2 separate regions of the Homo sapiens genome follow, and region 1 is linked to region 2. Evidence: promoter capture Hi-C in 16 types of primary human blood cells and fetal thymus (Javierre and others, 2016). All regions are on one chromosome and are shown on one strand. Each heading gives the region's core, a stretch centred on a gene start or on the middle of the fragment in contact. The rest is flanking DNA. Distances are from core to core; before and after follow the strand shown.

What was found. Contacts are between HindIII fragments. The CHiCAGO score rates a contact against its expected background, and 5 or more counts as called.
Region 1: a fragment that was not itself captured here is called in contact with the fragment with the promoter of TMSB4Y in region 2 in 1 of 17 cell types (activated CD4 T cells); the score reaches 5.3 in activated CD4 T cells.

What each region holds. Positions count from the first base shown.
Region 1 is chrY:13,435,340-13,439,035 of GRCh38, reverse strand. The region is part of intron 4 of UTY (ubiquitously transcribed tetratricopeptide repeat containing, Y-linked); the gene reads left to right. Among named protein-coding and RNA genes, the nearest start is that of MIR12120, 42 kb to the left of the region's middle. The HindIII fragment of the contact is 2,567 bases long and covers 1,020-3,586 here.
Region 2 is chrY:13,702,531-13,706,189 of GRCh38, reverse strand. It overlaps TMSB4Y (thymosin beta 4 Y-linked), which reads right to left and starts at 2,291. Exons shown (of 2, transcript NM_004202.3): 1 at 1,755-2,291; 2 at 166-965. The coding sequence starts at 1,854. The coding sequence ends at 931. The HindIII fragment of the contact is 16,122 bases long and covers 1-3,659 here.

The sequences.
Region 1 (3,696 bases), core at 1,054-3,553, 270 kb after region 2:
TTTATTTTTGACTTCTTTTCCTGCAGCTGTTAGAAGTCTTCTGTCTTTATAGATGTCTCCATGAGCATAGAGGGTAGCAAAAGCATATTTAGAATCAATATAGATATTAACTATCCTCCCTTTTGCTGGTAATAAGGCTCTTGTTAAAGCAATCAGCTCAGCCTTTTGAGCAGAGGATCTAGTTGGCAGTGACTGTGCTTCTACTACTGTTCCCTCACCTGACTTAAAATCATTTATCACTACTGCATACCTGGCTCTGTAAACTCCGTCTGAAATGAAGCTGCTACATCTGTTAAATAGTCTAGGTCTGAGTTTTCAAAAGGCTGATCTTTTAAGTCTTTCCTGCTTGAAAACACTTTATCTACTACATCCTTACAACAATGTGATGGGAATTCTTTTGATTCTTCTGTAGGCAGCAAGGTAGCTGGATTTAGGGTATTCCCTATTTCTACAGTTATATTAGGATTTTCAAGTAACAGTCTTTGATATTTAGCAATTCTTGGATAGACAACCAGTGATTCCCCCTCTGGTCTAACAGGGTTATTACGGTGTGTGGCACCTGAAAGTTAACTTCTGTCCTAGTGTTAATTTGCCAGCCTCCTGGGCCAGCAAGGTAGTTGCCGTTAACTGCTTTAAAGCAGTGTGTCCAGCCTAATGCCACTGTGTCTAGTTGTTTAGATAAATAGGCCACAGGTCTATGCCATGATCCTAGCATTTGTGTTAAAATTCCTACTACTGTCCCTGTTCTTTCATCCACGTAGAAGAAGAAAGGTTTAGTCTGATCTGGGAGCCTATGTTAAGGCCTTTTTGATTTTTTTTAATGCTTTTGCTTGATCCGTCTCCCAGAAGAGGGACTCTTTCTTAACCCCCTTTGTAGCTTTATATAGAGCCTCAGCTAAAAGTGAGAAACTTGGGATCCAAATGCGGCAGAACCCTGCTGCACCTAAGAATTCTGATTTGGCGCCCTGTGGTACCTGTAGGGAGTGTACACATGGCCTCTTTCCGCTCACTACCAAGCTTCTTTTGTCCTTTGCTTATTATAAAACCTAAATATTTAACTTTAGGACAACAGATGCAAACCTTTTTTTTTTTTTTCTGAAATTTTATATCCAGCATTCATTAAGACACTGAGGAGTTCCTCCATGCCTCTTTGGCAATCCTTCTAATTTTTGGAGCTTTTTTTTTGATGTCACTTTGTGACTGGCTAACGAAGGCAGTATTTACCATTTTCTGGTTATCAGCTGCCTGTGGGTCAGATGTAGAGCCAGTAGGTTTCACACAGCTGCTCTTAGAACTGGCTGGGACTCTGATCGGGCTTTTGGAGGACTTCTGAAACTTTTCCTATGTTCATTGCTTTTCTTCCCTCTGACTTTACCCCATTTAGGAGTGCATCCACATACCTCTGTAGGCATTCTAAATGATCAGGGTTGTTTGGGACCCAATTTGGATCAGTGTCAGGGAACTGAGCTTCCGCATACTGCCTGGAATCATTTATGCATTCAGGGGCATTGTTTTCTAGCCATTGGAGGGCTGCTTGCACCACTCTGTGCCTTCCTTCTGTGCTAAATAAACTACTAATAATTGCTGATAGTCTGGCCAGGTAGGACTATGAGTCGAAAAGATTATTCTCGTATCAATTATTGCTTGTGGCTTTTCTGTGTATGATGGGTTATGATGTTTCCAGTTTAAAAGGTCAGTAGTGGAGAAGGGGAGATAAGAGTAAGTTTGTTCTCCACCTTGTACCCTTGATCATCAAGGTAGATTTGTGCCCACGTCTCTCTGAGCGGCATTTGCAGAGCTCGGGAACCACTGGACCTAAGACGCCCTGCCCTGCCTCTTCATCCTGTTTTTCCCTCCTAGTCTTAGGTGGCAAGGATGCAGCTTCTTCCTGCTGTGGAGATGCCCCGCTACTTTCTGAGCTTGTTTCTTCAGGAGACAATTGCCCTTCCTCTTATCTGAGCCTTGCTAAGGATGGGTAGAGAAGGGCATATGGAGAAGGATTCTCTAGCTTCTCCAAAGGAGCCTGTAAGATGTGTGTGTGTGTGTGTGTGTGTGTGTGTGTGTGTGTCTCTTTTGCTTCCTAGTTTCCTTCTCTAAAGGCTTGCATGATACTGTCTTTTTGATCCCTTTTGGACCAGTTCGGGCGACTAGGGTCTTACAATATTCAGCCATGCAGATTCCTAGCCATTTAGGGCAATTTTGGATTATATTTAACCAGGAATCAATATATGGAAATTGATCTGGGTGTCCATGCTGATCTGTTGCCCCTGTTATTATTTGAAACACCCTGCTGGTGATTTTCCAAACAAGGGTGCCCTCTGGCGGCCAACCAATGCCCAAACTAGGCTATTCTATTACACAAAGAGTTCTTAACCTTTGGCGGGGGTCAGCTTTACTCCATATTCCCCAGAAAATCCCTCCTTGAAATTCTTTAGCATGCACTCCAAAGGAGTGGGGGTTAATTCCTTAGGTTCTTTTCCTCCCATTTCTTCCCGCACGACGCAATGACCCTCACTTTCATTTCGGACCGATTAGACTGTCTCCCTCGTGGGGGTGTTTCAGACGCCAGACCCCGCTTGACTTTGGAGAGTTTGTTACTCTCTGCCACAATACCTAGACTGTGGGGCCACCTCCCTCAGCTGTATGCGGTAGCCCCAAAGGAAGTTCGCCTCTAGTCGTCCTGGGTCCAACATTTCACTCACAGCATACAGTCCACTCTAACAGACTTGCGGCCCCCACGCTTCACAGCTGATGAGCCTAGTTAGGCTCCCACATTCACACACATTCGTACACAACTCCTGTCCCCAGGACTCCTCATCAGATGAAACGAGTCTGTCTCGTGTCCTGGGTGGGTTCACACGTACCCACACACTCCCAGTTGGGACAGTTCACTCACACTGGTGACTTCACGGTTTCACTTTCTCTTTGCTCCCTCCGGCTCAGCAGGCTCTACCCTGCTGCCGGCTTCAGGGCTGAATGTCACATGAGTGGTGAGGTCCTTTCCTCACCGCCCCCATTCACCTTCTGGGTTAGGCTAATAGACAACCCTTGAGTGGTGATCAGTGCCCCACCCGCCTGGTAGGGCACGATTTGTGTCTGTCCCTGTAAGGCACCCTTTCTTACTCTGTAGGGCCCTCTTTTCTTACCGTGATTCCTTTTCACTGCGCTGAAAGTTGTCTTGCGGTCTCCTTCCTGCGCTATCAGGGGCAGGGCCTTGGGATGTGGGAGAACCCAGCCCTTTTTTGGAAAACTCTTCGGTCGGCGCGCCTAAGAACTGGGTCTCCCCCGACCCCGGGGCCCAAGTCCCACAGTCAAAGGAGACAGTAGCTTGTCCTCTCTCTCCTCTTGTCGAACTCTCCAAAATGTCGCAGTAAAACTCAGCCAAAGAAGACAAAGAGACCTTTGGAGACCAAAAACAACTTTAATTGAGGCACCTGAGCCAGTAGGCTCACGCCCAAAATGGCTGCCGACCCTGACAAAGAATGCAGGCTTGCTTACATGTTGTTTGAGGCGGGAAAACAAGGCAGGATACCGGTTTCAGACAAAGACAGTAAATTATTTAACCTGTGACAATTCTGAGAAAGCTTACAATTTAGTTATCTTGACCAGTCAGGCTCGAAGCTGGACAGAGCTGGGGTAAGGGAAAACAGGAACGACAGGAATGTGCGGGGGGTCTGGAGGCAGGCAATAAGCTTG
Region 2 (3,659 bases), core at 1,042-3,541:
CCACAATGAAGAGTGCACGCGCACAGTGCATGCATGAACCCTGCCCACCGGTCTCAGAAGCCAGGAGTAGGGATAGCCCAAGCATGTCAATGTGACCACAGATAAAACGTTACATAAAAAGCTAAGGAAAATATAAACCAAGTAAATACAGGTCTTAGAAGCATATTTTCTTCTTAGCTTACTTTATTGCACACTTACGTCTTAAGTTTGTAATTAAGTCCCTTCTCACTACATGCAACAATATAGCTGAACTCTAAATTAGTGCTTATTAGTTGTAGATTACAGTATAAGCCAGTTTTGAAAACATAATCTAAAGGTAATCTCAATTAGCCAAAAAAAATCATCTCCCAATTAGCTAGAATAAAGAAGGTATTTTACATATCCAGGTAAAACATATTTCATACTGTAACATAATTTATTCAAATCGTCAGCTTTTAAGTTATTCTTTGCCTGTGAGGCCAAGGGGCACGCCACTTTGCAAACGTTTAAATGGTGAATAAAACACTCTTTCCAATCAACAAGCAATCTCACAAGCAGTGGTTTAAAAATGTCTTTTTTAAATAAAAACTGTGCATTCCAAAAATTAAAATCTTTCAAACAACAACAAAAATGGCACGCTGATTAAACTTCATTTTAGATTCTGCAGGACACTTGGCCCAACTTGGTTTTACTCTAGATTTCACTGCCCTCCCACTCCGCTAAGTCTTTCACCAACATTCAAGCTATTTTCCTTCCCTGCCAGCCAGACAGGCGATGGGAGAAGCAGGCGTGGCCTCCATTGTCAGCAGGTCTTTGATGTCAAAAGGGCAGCATAGTCCTTTCAAACTCATCCAACGTGTTTGCATCTAACCAAGTTAAACAAGTAAAAGAAGTAAAATAAGAAAGCAATGCTTGTAGAATGTACAGTAGATATTGGTGGCACATGCCTGTTTAAGATTCGCCTGCTTGCCTCTCCTGTTCGATAGCTGCGACCAGAAAAAAACAGAAAAGGAAAAAGATGGAGTGGGATGATTAAGGGGTTTCAGTACAGCCTAATATGGATGGGATGATTAAGGGGTTTCAGTACAGCCTAATATGGAATTAAGGGGCTTTCATTTGCAACATCTTGTCATATCCTAAACGTTCTGCAAGTGTACCTAGCTAGGCATGTCATAATCAAATAAAAAATGTATATTGAGTATATTAAATAGCCGTACATTTTCAGTGATAAATGTGTTTGTATATTATTATAGCGCATTAAATATTGCATTATTAAATTAATGAACCCTGTGTTCATGCAACCTTCCCCCTTAAGGATCGCCCTATTGTTTTGTTTGTTTTTGTTTTGGTTGAGATGAAGTCTCCCTCTGTCACCCATACTAGAGTGCAGTGGCAGGATCTGGGCTCACTGCAACTTCCCCTCCCAGGTTCAAGCAATGCTTCTGCCTCAGCCTCCCAAGTAACTGGGATTACAGGCGCCCTCCAGCAAACCAAGTTAATTTTGTATTTTTTGTAGAGACGAGGTTTCCTCAGGCTGGTTTCGAACTCCTGACCTCAGGTGATCCCCGCCTTGGTCTTCCGAAGTGTTGGGATTACTGCACTAAAAGTTATCTGATTTTTAATTAACCTTTGCAAGCCACATTCACCAACTATCTGCTCCTTGAGCGCCCTCCCCTGCCTCCCGAATTCTTCCCGTGGCAGCTCCCAGTCTCCCGCCCTCCCACCGCCCGCTCGCATTCCAGCCTTTCTAAAGATGGGGGAGGATCGGAGCTTACTTTCTTTGGAAGACAATGGATTCTTCTCTTGCGTTTCTGTCTTCTTCAGTTTCGACTTATCGAATTTCTCGATCTCAGCCATACCAGGTTTGTCAGACATGGCTGCGGAGGAAGCCGTAGGGAGCAATCCAAAGTGAGCGTGAGAAACAGCCACCTGTCCGGGTCTCTGTACTGGGAACTGTGCTTCTGCCCTCCGACCCGCAACCTGAGAAAGCCCTTCTCGCCCTCCGTCCCCTGCTGTTTCGCGCTCATGAGCTTCCTCTTTCCACAGAAAAAGAGGCGACACCTTTCCTCAAATATTTGAAAACGCAGGGGACCAAAGAGGACAGATCCCTCTCAAAGTGGAATGTTCCGGAATAAAGGAATTTGACCCCTGTGAACTGTTAATTACAGCGTTTAAAATTAAAGGCTGGCTTGGAAGAGAATAGGAAAGCCACTTCCGCGTTCAAGTGGTTAAAATCGGGCAAGAATTCCTAAAATGGAGCCCAGGTCGCAAAAGCACTTCCATTTTGTAGCCACGGCCTCTCTGCAAACAACGCAGGCCTGGTCCTGCGCCCGCTTTCTAGTCTTCTCACGTAGGCGGAGGCTGCAGCTGGAGCTTGCGACAACCGCCCTACCAGCTTCCTCGCCCGCGCCACACTGCAGCCCAGCACACAAAGCGCGGCCCGGAAGCTAGTCCTGCCGGCGCTCTCGGCATTTCGGCATCCCTAGCACACATGCCTCTGCAAGAAGGGCTGTGAAAATGTCACAGCGCAGCGCCGCCGCTGCCAGGCTGCACAGATGCAGCCCGCAGAGCCGTCTGAGGCTGGGAGACGGCTCGGGGCTCGGGAGATGAGTGAGCCTCAGAACAAAGGATCTGTCTGTTCCCACATCTCAGCCTCCAAGACAACGCACAATACCTTTGAGAGCAAACACTAAGAAATTTTTTTTTTTTTTTTTTTTTTTTTTTTTTTTTTTTTTTTTTTTTTTTTTTTTTTTTGAGACGGAGACTCGCTCTGTCGCCCAGGCTGGAGTGCAGTGGCGGGATTTCGGCTCACTGCAAGCTCCGCCTCCCGGGTTCACGCCATTCTCCTGCCTCAGCCTCCCAAGTAGCTGGGACTACAGGCGCCCGCCACTACGCCCGGCTAATTTTTTGTATTTTTAGTAGAGACGGGGTTTCACCGTTTTAGCCGGGATGGTCTTCATCTCCTGACCTCGTGATCCGCCCGCCTCGGCACACTAAGAAATTTTAACACGAACCCTCCGAGCGGCAGTACATAAACGCCGGTTTATTTGCTTTGTTCTTAAATCATCGATTTCCCCACCGCATTACCCAGCATCTAGGGTGTTTCGCATCCCCACCTCCCCAAGGCAGCTTTCCCGGGGATAATCACTCGGCTTGGCTTTAGGGGATGTCTTCACAGGGACGCGAATAATGAAGGGGCAAGCGCGGCATGAAGGGGAGGGTAGAAGGAGTAAGGATGCAGGGGCCCTGGGGCTTACCTAAGCCAGGCGCGTAAGGGAGTGAAATCTAGTCTACACAGTGTCCACCGCGGAGTTGCCAGGACGGGATGGGCAGGCGCTACTTTATAGCCCTCCTATGTAAATGAGTTGATGTCACCCACAGGCCCGCTTAAGTCTTTCGCTCCACGTCTCGGAAGGGCGTCTGAAAGCTGCCGGGCGGTTGGGGAGCCCCAACGCCACCCTAGGTGCACCATTGCCCCCTAACCACAACGATGGCGAAAGATAAAATGAGCAAAGCACCTTCCAACACTTCCTTCAAAACGCATTTTCCCCTTTTACAACAGGAGCGTAAAAATTGCTCTTGCGGACTGGTGCATATTATTTAAGGGTCGGAGTAATACCTAGGGTAACAGGCATTGTTTTACTGAGAAACTGGCTTTACCTACTGAGGACATACGCACG